Linked DNA regions of Homo sapiens: region 2 is linked to region 1. The links are contacts of gene promoters, found by promoter capture Hi-C in blood cells and fetal thymus (Javierre and others, 2016). All regions are on one chromosome and are shown on one strand. The core of a region is centred on a gene start or on the middle of the fragment in contact, and the rest is flanking DNA. Distances in the headings are between cores, read along the strand shown. Region 1 holds the start of MED22 (mediator complex subunit 22). Region 2 holds the start of SLC2A6 (solute carrier family 2 member 6).

The links. The method cuts DNA at HindIII sites, captures the fragments that hold promoters and counts their contacts. A CHiCAGO score of 5 or more calls a contact.
Region 2: the fragment with the promoter of SLC2A6 here is called in contact with the fragment with the promoter of MED22 in region 1 in 3 of 17 cell types (endothelial precursors, M1 macrophages and total B cells); the score reaches 7.6 in endothelial precursors.

Annotation. Positions count from the first base shown.
Region 1 is chr9:133,344,524-133,350,073 of GRCh38, forward strand. MED22 (mediator complex subunit 22) reads right to left here and starts at 3,608. Exons shown (of 5, transcript NM_133640.5): 1 at 3,399-3,608; 2 at 2,017-2,177; 3 at 649-729. The coding sequence starts at 2,139. It overlaps RPL7A (ribosomal protein L7a), which reads left to right and starts at 3,695. Exons shown (of 8, transcript NM_000972.3): 1 at 3,695-3,723; 2 at 4,399-4,519; 3 at 5,028-5,177; 4 at 5,389-5,529. The coding sequence starts at 3,721. SNORD24 (small nucleolar RNA, C/D box 24) reads left to right here and starts at 4,873; the gene lies at 4,873-4,947. RefSeq lists enhancers at 1,181-1,684, 1,685-2,186, 3,491-3,785, 3,647-4,116. The HindIII fragment of the contact is 16,795 bases long and covers 1-5,550 here.
Region 2 is chr9:133,477,184-133,483,044 of GRCh38, forward strand. SLC2A6 (solute carrier family 2 member 6) reads right to left here and starts at 1,916. Exons shown (of 10, transcript NM_017585.4): 1 at 1,785-1,916; 2 at 1,071-1,233; 3 at 1-58. The coding sequence starts at 1,876. RefSeq lists enhancers at 1,446-1,505, 1,926-2,427 and a silencer at 1,666-2,315. The HindIII fragment of the contact is 7,664 bases long and covers 1-5,861 here.

The sequences.
Region 1 (5,550 bases), core at 2,358-4,857:
GCAGGGCAGGCCCTCCCCTCTCGTCAGCCTCTGGCTTCCACTCCTGCAGGACTGGCCTCCAGTCCAATTATGCAGGTGTACATTCTGCTCATGAAAAACTCAAACCCCACAGATAAAACTGCGATCCCATTTTGCCTCCTGCCCCGGGGTAGGATTAACATGGCTGCCAGCTGGGCAGAGCTCCTGTGGGACCTTTTTCCATGCATTTTGAGCCCTGGACGTGCACCTGCGGAATTATCTGCTTGCTGTGTTTCTCCTGTGATCCGAAGGAATCCAATGGCGCCTACAGTTCCATTCGGCTGTTTGTCTTTTCACTCACAACTGACCTTAGGAACTCCTGAGTTAGCAGGAAGGGCTACCCTCTTTCTGGCCACTGCACGGCTACAGGACGGGCATGGGTGGCTCTCTGCCCAGCCCTCCTCCAAGTGCCCCACGTGAGGACAGTCTCCTGAGAAATGATTTGCCCCCACCTCATTCTTTAAAGCTGCCGAGTGGTGAAACCAAAGCATCTCTACATTTGCCTCCTTCTGCTCCTTCTCGGGGGAAGAAGACCAGACCAGCCCCAGAGCCCCCTCCACTCCACCCAGGAAACCTGAGGGGACTGATGCTCTTGGAGCCCAGGCCGTGCCCTCCACCCTGGCCACTCACGATGTTGGCGGCTCGCACATGCATCTCGTAATTGTCCTGTTCACCCTGAGTGGCCCGTGACACCTGCGTCTCGTCCTCAATCTGGGGGAAAACAAGAAAACCTAGAAATCAACCCAGCCAAGGCATCCCCACCCCTGGCCCGGCCCAGCCCAGCTTACGGTAACTGTCATCTACCCAGGATGTCCACACTGGCCACAACCTGTCTGTGGTGCCATCTACAGACCTAAGCGCTGTCAGCCAGACCTCTGACAAGGTTCAATTCCACCCTCTCTTGTTCTGGCCATGGGAGACAACATGCACCTTTGCTCAAGACAAATAGAGGCAACCCACGCTGCTTGCTGTACTAGGTGCAGGGATGGGGGCTTATCTTGGCCCGGTCTTTTTGGGCTGTGGGAGCCCTGTTTGGTAGGAACCGTTGTCACTTGCTTGGCATTTGGTAAACTGTTGGATGAGTGAAGGGATGATTTAAGTTTTTTTTCGCGACCATTTCCTGATCACTTCCCAGGTGCCAGGCTGTGTCATGCACTTGACCACCATTAACCCATGCCAGTTTCACAGAAGCCTGGCCTGCCACCCCTGGTGTATAGGTGGCCAAGCGAGGCTGGATGGGGCTTCCCGGCAGGCCTTGCAAAGGCTCAGTTCGGGGTGGGTGTCAGGTACCCTCAGTGGTTAAGACCCAGACTTCGTGGGTTCAAATCCTGGCTCAGCCAGTTGTGAGCTGAGTGACCTTGGGCAAGTCACTAAGTCTCCTGGGCCTGGGTTTCCTCCTGAAATGAAGAGGACAACAGTGCCCACCTCACAGAGTCCTCATGAAGATTCAGCAGAACAGGCACAGATAACCTCACAACGTGGCTTGATACATGGCAAGCACTAAGTACATGCTAGCTTCCATCCTCATCATCATCGCTTATGGAGCCTGCCAGGTCTGCAGCAGCCAGGAGGGATCCAGCCCAATCTGATGCAGCTGTAGCTGCAGTGGTCAGCAGGCTTGCAGGCCCCAGTGCTGACCGCTCCACCTGCCTGGAGGCCCCCCCCCACTTCTCCCCTCAGTCTGCTTTTCTCCTGCTCATTGGCTGTGTGCCAGGCCCCGAGGTAACTGTTTTACACAGATAAACTCACCAGTCATCACAAGGACCCCACCATGCAGGAGAAACTGAGGCACTAAAAAGTGAAATCTCCATCCAAATCCATACTGTTAGTAAGGGCTGGACGTGCCATTATTTGGTTTGCTTATCTACTGACCAGCTCCCTGTGCACTGGGTGCTTCCTGCCTAGAACACTATTCACTCGCGCTGCTCAGCCCCTGGCCTCTCCTGTCTCCACCCCTTCTCAGACTCTGCTCCCCTTGGTGGGCCACCCCACCCCCACCTTGGCGGTCTTGATGATCTCGGTGAAGTTGTCCATGATGGACTTAATGTCGTCCTTCAGCCGCTTGTTGTAGGACTGCAGCAGCGTCTCCTTGCTCTGGGGCAGGGCTCTCTGCTGGGCCATGGCCGAGCCTCAAGCAGCGCAGCGGGGAGACCTGGGACCTAGAGTGCAGCACAGACCTCTGAGTGCAGGCAGAGTCTACCCCAGCCACCCTCTATGCCCCAACCTTAGCAGAACACGCAGATTTCTGGGGATTCCCTTTCTGCCAAATAAAGTCAATCACTGAAACACAGATGAACTCATTCCATCAGCAGACACCGCAGGGGGTGCCAGGACTGGCCCCGCCTTTGCCAGAGCAAGCTCATCCTGGAACTCCTGGCCAGCCCTCCAAGCCCTGTCCAGGGCTCCAGTCCAGACTTCACGTCCAGGCCCACAGCGTGTCCCAGGGAGCCCTGCAAACTCAACACCAGCTCCCCGTCCCCAGCCCTTGGCTTAACTTCTTAGCCCGCCGCCACCTTCGCCACGCCCTCCCATCCGAAGAGTCCTTCCAATTCGACCCCTCTGCACCGCCTACATCCACGCTTTCCTTCCACTCCCACTCAGGCTGCCCCGCTCCAGACCTCATCCCTGCACTGCGGGCCCCGCTCCCTCCAGTCTCTGCGCGGCAGGGAAGAGGTCCTAAAAAGTGGTCATTCCAACCGGGCGCGGTGGCTCACGCCTGTAATCCCAGCACTTTGGGAGGCCGAGGCAGGGATCACCTGAGGTCAGGAGTTTGAGACTAGCCTGACCAACATGGTGAAACCCCAACTCTACTAAAAATACAAAAATTAGCCGGGCGTGATGGCAGGCGCCTGTAATCCCAGCTACTCGGGAGGCTGAGGCAGGAGAATCGCTTGAACCCGGGAAGCACAGGTCGCAGTGAGCCGAGATCGCGCCACTGCACTCCAGCCTGGGCGACAGGGGGAGACTACGTCTCCAAAAGAAAAAAAAAAGGGGGGTAATTCCACTCCCTCGCTTAACATCCCTCATGGTTCCCCGGTGCGCCGGGACAAGGGGCTCAAGTTCCGCGCCGCGCCTCTCGGCCTCTGCCCTCCAGCCGCACTGGACGGCCTCGGCGCTGGAGTTGCCTGGCCCTGGGGCCGGGCCTTTGCGCGCGGTGCTCAGGGAGGGCCCGGGGCCCCCTAGGTTCGGAGTCTGGCGCACGACCGAGCGGACTCCTGGACGCACTCGCATTGTTTGTGCCCATTTTTGGCGGGGTGTGGGAAATAAGTCACACGCAGGAAAGGGGATCTCCGACCCCAGCGCCTACGCACCCACCCACCCCCACTCCCGCCCACACACCCACCCCCCCTCCATCCCCACCCCCCACCACACCCTCATACCCGCCCCAGCGCCCGCACACCAGACGCCGCGTCCGCCGGGTCGGCCTAGGGCGGGGTGGTCAAGTGCCTCTGCGACCCGCACTTTCCCGCGTCTCTCCCACGGCCTGGCCCTCCCGCCGCAGTCTCTCTTCCCCGCCGCGCCGCGGTCCGAAAACCTAGTCAGCCGCCGCAGCCTCTCGGCCCCGCCTCGATTTTTAGCTTTATAGGAATGCTGTTGCTTTAAATCCGAAATCCCGTGCCGGTATCAACTCTCGCGATCTCCGAGGCCGCATACATATTACCCACAATTCCCTTTCCTTTCTCTCTCCTCCCGCCGCCCAAGATGGTGAGTGAGCTGTAGTTCCGTGGCACTATAGCCAGGTTCCGGCTGTATCCGCTGCCATCCTCCTCCAGGCGCGGCCTCGGAGGGCCTCCTGCTCCTCCTGGCGCTAGGAGAGCCCCACTCGGTGTGGCACGGAGACACCGAGGTGGATTAGAGCCCCACTTGGTGTGGCACGGAGACATTGAGATGGACTAGAGCCCCGGGCGGCCGAGAGCGGAATGCGTTGTTCCCGGTGTCGCAGGGCTGGGTGTCGCAGGCCTGGAGCACCGCAGTGCGGGGCTCGGAGCCCTAGCGTCTCTCGGGCTTGCTGGGGGCCGCTCCAGAGGCCTTGTGAGCGACGAGTTCTGAGCCCGCCCCTGTTGCTTCTAGAGCCTGTGGGGCCGCGACTCAGAGGAGTCATGAGTCCGGGGTGTCTCCTGGGTGGGCGACGCGAAGAGAGCGTGGTCTCGGGCTTAGCCTTGCTCTGGCCACTCGGGGTTCCCGGGGCTGCATGCTTGTGCGGCTGAATGTGAGATGCTCCTGTCGAGGGGTGGTGCTGGGGGGTTGCAGAAAGCTGCTCGCCAGCTTAGTTCAGGCAGGTGCTGTCAGCGTCCCTTGTTTTGGAGGAGCCAGCCTGAGCCCTACCCCCGACGAAGCGAGTGGAGGCGGCGGTTTAACTGACGTTTTCTTTCTGCCCAGCCGAAAGGAAAGAAGGCCAAGGGAAAGAAGGTGGCTCCGGCCCCAGCTGTCGTGAAGAAGCAGGAGGCTAAGAAAGTGGTGAATCCCCTGTTTGAGAAAAGGCCTAAGAATTTTGGCATTGGTAAGTAACAAACGGCAGAATGAAAACGGTCTATGTTTTTCTCAAGGGAAGGTGGTAATTGGGTTGTGTTGTATCTTGTAGGTTTTAGTGGGTGTAAAGTGGTCGCAGTCCTTAATTTGTGTCTCTTAGAGACGGGGGCAATGATACATGCTTCTTGCTTTCATTGGGAGTTGCTGAGCGAGCATTCAGCTCAATATGGTAGTGGCCTTGAATTCAGCTTAGCCATCTGGAAACAAGTACAGTAGCAGTGTCGCAGCGAGGTACTAGGACTGCAATTCTGCTGTACTTCGTGGCACCTTGGCTTCTTGTTAGATGAGGAAAAGCATCGTGCTCTTTGTTCTCAGGTGTTTGTGTGCAGATGATGTAAAAGAATATTTGCTATCTGAGAGATGGTGATGACATTTTAAACCACCAAGATCGCTGATGCACCAACACCCTTCCTAGTGGCCCCAGACATGAACTTGACATGGAATTTGAGCCTCACTCGGTGTCACCCTTTACTTCTCAGGACAGGACATCCAGCCCAAAAGAGACCTCACCCGCTTTGTGAAATGGCCCCGCTATATCAGGTTGCAGCGGCAGAGAGCCATCCTCTATAAGCGGCTGAAAGTGCCTCCTGCGATTAACCAGTTCACCCAGGCCCTGGACCGCCAAACAGGTGAGGTTCTGTGGCGTGGAAAGGAGTTTCTCAGGCAAGGATTCCTTATTTCATCCAGAACATGAGGGGGATGGTCTTAGGCTTCTTGAACTGCAGTTGTCATTAAATTATAGTCATATAGCAGGACCGCAGTCCAGCATTTGTTATTAAGTGTTAAGTGACAAGGATTAGAACCTTGACTCCAAGCCTAAACTGAAGAGTGTTTTTCCAGCTACTCAGCTGCTTAAGCTGGCCCACAAGTACAGACCAGAGACAAAGCAAGAGAAGAAGCAGAGACTGTTGGCCCGGGCCGAGAAGAAGGCTGCTGGCAAAGGGGACGTCCCAACGAAGAGACCACCTGTCCTTCGAGCAGGTGAGTAGGCCCCACCTTAGG
Region 2 (5,861 bases), core at 666-3,165, 130 kb after region 1:
GGTCGTTGAGGATCATGGCACTCAGGCCTCCGGCCGCTGCTCCCAGGGTGAACACGGACTGCAGGGGAAGGGGGTGCAGGGCAGATATGTCTGGGCACTTGGCACCCCAATCTCATCAGAGTCCAGGGACAGCTTCTTCCCTAGGCCGACCCCAGGAGCTGGTCAAGCACTTGGCCAAGTCAAGCACTTGAAACAGGGAGCCTCCTGTCTTCAAGGAACAGCCATTTGTTAGGGATGCCCAAACGGGGAATTCTGCTCTAAGGAAGAGGTGCTGCGCCACATATCCACAGTGGTTCTGTCCAGCCTGATGTTTAAATGTCTAATATTTTAATACAGGAGAATTCTGTGACTTGAAGGTACTGGGCTTTAAGATTTGGAGGTTCTTAAGTTCCCTGTACAGCAGCAACTGGGACCCCCTCTGGACTCTGCTAACTGGTAGTGGGACCTGGGCACATTGCCCAGCCTGTCTGCACCTCAGTTTCTTCAGCTGTCTTATGGGGAGAGCGCAAGTTCTACCTCGTGGCGTTGGCCCTGAGAATCAATGAACGTTCAGTGCCCAACACATGCCTGGCACATAGGAAGTGCTCAGTAAACCTTGGGAATTTTTATCTTAACTACTATGTTAACAACTCTACATATGAGGCTATTAAGATTATAATTTTAGACTCTGGGACTCTGGGATCTTCCTCTCCATCAGCCCACAATCTGTCCTGCGGACTCTCCTTGCCCCAGCCAGTGCCTCTCCCCACTGACACCTGATACCCTTGCCCCCATCCAGCCAACTGTGGGTGTGGGGACCCGGGGAAGCCTCAGCCCCACCTAGTATAGACCCTGACAGCCACCTCCCCACCTGCTCCTTCCCTCACCCTCTCCACTGGCTTTCAGTTCCTCATTTCAGAGGAATCCTGTAGCTTTACCCCACCCACTAGTGGCCTGGATGGCTGGGGGAGGGGGGACCAGGGCCCTGGAGGGACCCCCAAGGTGGAGAATTTGGGAGGTTCCTAGCTGGAGATAAGGCTCAGCAGGTCCCTCCTTCCTGCACCCACCCTCCTCCAGAGGATGGTCCTTACCCCAAACCAGGATGCCTGGGATTTGGTCAGATGCAGGTCAGGATCCAAGGAGCGCTCCAGGGCTGGGATGACAGGGGATGTGTAGACCAGGGCATACCCAAAGCTGAAATTGCCGAGCACTGCGGCGAAGGTGGCCAGGAACACCCTTTTGTTCTGCAGGGTCCTGGTGATGGTGGCGGACAAAAAGACCAGGGTCTCTGAGTCCCTCCTCCAGGGACCATTGCCTTTTCTGAACCCAGTGGCTGCCCGGCTCAGCGGGCAGTGCTAGGGAGGCCTGGGTCCAAGGCCATTCACGTTCCCAGGGCCTGAGCCCCAGCTCCCCTGGGAAATTCCCAGGCCATTGTTAGCTCATCCGCAGTGGCTGAGCCTCTGGTGCTGGGGCCTTTTCTCCGGAAGAGGAGGCTCTGGTTCTGCCCCCAGGGCGGCGGCTGGAGGCTTGCTGTGTGACCTCAGGCAGAACCCCTGCTCGCTGGGGCCTCAGTCTCACTGTCTGTGGCAGTGGGGGGCTGGGCCCGGTACTCTCGTGGATCGTTCCTTCCCTTAGGGGGACCAGTTCCTTAAATAGGAGTAGCGTGTCTGGGACAGGAGGGAGCCAGATGGCCCCTCGGTGGCGACTAGGTCAGGGGAGGCCCAGGGCGGGAGCCTGCCGCCGGCTGGAGGGAACCAGGGCCACCCCCAGGCCCCACCCGCAGCCCCCAACCTAGCGACTCTCACCCGACCCGCGCCCTGTCCCCTGGCGACGGGGGCGGCTTCTCGGGGAAGGTGTCGTAGTCCGGGCCCTCGGCTCCCAGCAGCGGCTCCTGCATGGCCGGGTCTCTCTCGGGGCGAGCGGAGGGCGCTCAGACTGGAGCAGCCGCCCGGGGCCAGCAGCTCCGAGGGCACCGGCCAGGCTCCGCCCCTTGGCCGCTATTGGCTGTGGGACGGCCCTGCAGAGACACGCCGGCCAATGGGGCGGCCGCAGGCTGTCCTGATGCTCGGATGCGGACCCGGCTTCCCCGGGCGCGGCCGGCACCGCGTGCGCCCCCGAAGGTCACGCCCCAAGACAGGATGGGGGTCCCAGGGCGGAGCCCCTGCTGGATCGTCCGGGGCCCCCGCGGAGCGCCGGAAGCGGCTCACCCGGCCCGGCTCTTGCAGGCGTGACTGCGGCAATGCGCGCAGCCCCTGTCGTACTCGCTCCCGCGGGGTGGAAACCGAGGCCCAGAGAGGCGAAGCCGAGCGCCAGGGTCACAGCGAATGCGCACCTCGCTCCTCCTTACGCTCTAGCCCTCCCCGTCGCGTGGCGTCTCAGGGCCACCTCTGCCCTGGCTCTCCCTGGCACCAGGGAATCGGGGTGTGTCAGGGCAGCAGCGGATGTGCGGGACGAAGGAGGCAGGAGGGGCCGGCGAGGCGCTGTGGGCAGCTCCAGTGGGCGAGGTCTGTATCCTCCACCCCAGGCTCTGGTGGTAGAAATAACCTGAGCTCGTGACACGTAACCCAGGTAGTAAGATAACATTGAAAAATAAGAAAAGCAGAAATGGAAAATTCCCGGGAAGACCGTCCTCAAAAAATCCCACAGCAGTTCCACCTCTCCCTTTGGGCCTTTTCGGGAAGAGGACGGAATCACGCCCTGCTCTGTTGGATGGACGTGCCACACACGCTTTTAAACGGAGCCTTTGTTGCTGAGTATTTGGGTCATTTCCCATTTTAGCTATTAACATGGTAAAGCATTTTTAAAAGTTAGAATTCCCTTTTATTATGATTGAAATACAACCATAATAGAACAATAAAATCACATCCATCTCCCGTCAGCCTGACCTTGATGGCGTTTTAGCCTCTTCCAGTCTTTTCCTCATGTGCCTATTTTGCATATTTGCTATTGGGGCCCCCATTAAACTGTGCAGCCCCTTTACGTCACCGTTTTCTTGCCATCAAGATCATAGGCTTTGGACTCAGGCACACCCTGGTATGGTGATCAGGCTGCACAGTCCTCGTGGCCATATATATACGTATATACATATATATGTGTATGTATTTTTACATATCTATATGTGTATTTTTTTTTTTTTTTTTGAGACGGAGTCTCGCTCTGTTGGCCAGGCTGGAGTGCAGTGGCACGATCTCAGCTTACTGCAACTTCCACCTCCCGAGTTCAAGCGATTCTCCTGCCTCAGCCTCCCAAGTAGCTGGGATTACAGGCATGTGCCACCACGCCCGGCTAATTTTTGTATTTTTAGTGGAGACGGGGTTTCACCATGTTGGCCAGCTTGGTCTTGAACTCCTGACCTTGTGATCCTTCCGCTTCAGCCTCACAAAGTGCTGGGATTACAGGCGTGAGTCACCGCACCCGGCCTTCTCTTTTTTTAAAATGTATTTTTTTTCTTTTAAAATCAACTTTAGGCCAGGTGCAGTGGTGTGTGCCTGTAATCCCAGCATTTAGGAGGCCAAGGTAGGAGAATTGCTTGATGCCAGGAGTCTGACACCAGCCTGGGCAACAAAGTGACCCTGTCTCTACAAAAAGCTAAAAAAGTTGTCCAGGTGTGATGGCAAGTGCCTGTGGCCCCAGCTACTCGGAAGGCAGAGGTGGGAAGATTGCTTGAGCCCAGGAGTTTGAGGCTGCGGTGAGCTGTGATCACACCACAGCACTCCAGCCTGGGTGACAGAGGGAGAGCCTTCTTGAAAAAATAAAATACAAGAAAAATCAACTTTGTTAAGCTATAATTTATATACAGTAAAATGAATCCATTTTAAATATAGGTTGATGAGTTTTGACAATTGTATAACCCCAAACACCCCCAATCAAGATATAAAACATTTCCACCTTTTCTTTCTTTCTTTTATCTTTTTTTGAGACAGAGTCTCTCTCTGTTGCCCAGGCTGGAGTGCAGTAGTGCGATCTCGGCTCACTGCAACCTCCGACCACTGGGTTCAAGCGATTCTCCTGCCTCAGCCTCCCGAGTAGCTGGGATTACAGGCGCCCGCCACCACACCTGGGTAGTTTTTGCATTTTTGGTAGAGATGGGGTTTCACCATGTTGGCCAGGCTGGTCTCAAACTCCCAACATCAGGTGATCCTCCCGCCTTGGCCTCCCAAAGTGCTGGGATTACAGGCGTGAGTCATCACGCCCAGCCCATTTCCACCCTTCTAGAAGGTTTCTTTGTGCCTTTCTGAGGTCAACCTCCTTTCCCTGCTCCCCAGTAAACTATTTTTTTTTTTGAGAGGGAGTTTCACTCTGTCCCCCAGGCTGGAGTGCAGTGGTGCGATCTCGGCTCACTGCAAGCTCCGCCTCCCAGGTTCATGCCATTCTCCTGCCTCAGCCTCCTGAGTAGCTGGGACCACAGGTGCCCGCCACCATGCCCGGCTAATATTTTTTTGTATTTTTAGTAGAGATGGGGTTTCACCATGTTAGCCAGGATGGTCTTGATCTCCTGACCTCGTGATCTGCCGGCCTCGGCCTCCCAAAGGGCTGGGATTACAGGCATGAGCCACCGCGCCCGGCCTCCCCAGTAAACTATTAATCTGCTTCCTGTGACGATAGATTACAGTGGTCTTATAAAGAGAACCTATGTGAAGCACTGTTTTTTTGTCTGCCTTCTTTTTTCAGCATGTTTATGAAATTTATCAGTGGTTTGCTGATGTTCAGTGGTTTGTTCTTATTTGCAGCCGCGTAGTGTAGTGTTTTACGGATGTAGCACAGTTTTTGGCTAAAAGAATGAGCCGGTGTGAGCCTTCTTGCACAGAACCCTGCTTAACAGCCTTTTTTTTTTTTTTTTGAGATGAGTCTCGCCCTTTCCCCCAGGCTGGAGTGCAGTGGTGCCATCTCAGCTTACTGCAAGCTCCACCTCCTGGGTTCACGCCATTCTCCTGCCTCAGCCTCCTGAGTAGCTGGGACTACAGGCGCCTGCCACCACGCCCAGCTAATTTTTTGTATTTTTAGTAGAGACGGGGTTTCACCGTGTTAGCCAGGGTGGTCTCCATCTCCTGACCTCGTGATCCGCCCGCCTCGGCCTCCCAAAGTGCTGGGATTACAGGCATGAGCCACTGCACCCGGCCCTGTTTCACAGCCTTTTAATGTTAAAGGCTGGGTGGATGAGCTTGAATTTGTAATGAATCTTCTGTCATGGGCATCAAAGCTGTTTCAAACTGTAAGGGTAGAAAAGGTGGAATCCGTTTCCTCACCCATTGTTACAAGACCAGCAGATCCACATGCCTGCTCCACCGTGACACCACGACACACCAGTACACCGTGCAGCAGGGTTCGCAGCAGGGAAGAGTTTAATGATTGCAGGGCTCTGAGCAAGGAGATGGGAGGAGATCCTCAAATCCATCTCCCCTAGGAGCTTTGGGCTGGGGCTTTTAAGGGGATCATGGAGGGCGATGGGCTTTAGAAGTGGGTTGTTGATAGGTCTGGGGATGGGAGGTAAAATCATCAGGAGGTGGAAAATGTATTCTTTGGTGAATCAGGTCCTCCTGGGGTCCTTGAGACCAGCTGTCATCAGTAGTTTCTTTCTTTTTTTTTTTTTGAGACAGAGTCTCACTCTGTCACCCAGGCTGGAGTGCAGTGGTATGGTCTCCACTCACTGCAACCTTCACCTTCTGGGTTCAAGCGATTCTCCCACCTCAGCCTCCAGAGTAGCTGGGAGTACAGATGCATGTCACCACACCTGGCTGATTTTTGTATTTTTAGTAGAGATGGGTTTTCACTATGTTGGCCAGGCTGGTCTCGAACTTCTGACCTCGTGATCTGCATGCCTCAGCCTCCCAAAGTGCTGGGATTACAGGCGTGAGCCACCGCGCCCGGCCGGTGTCAGTAGT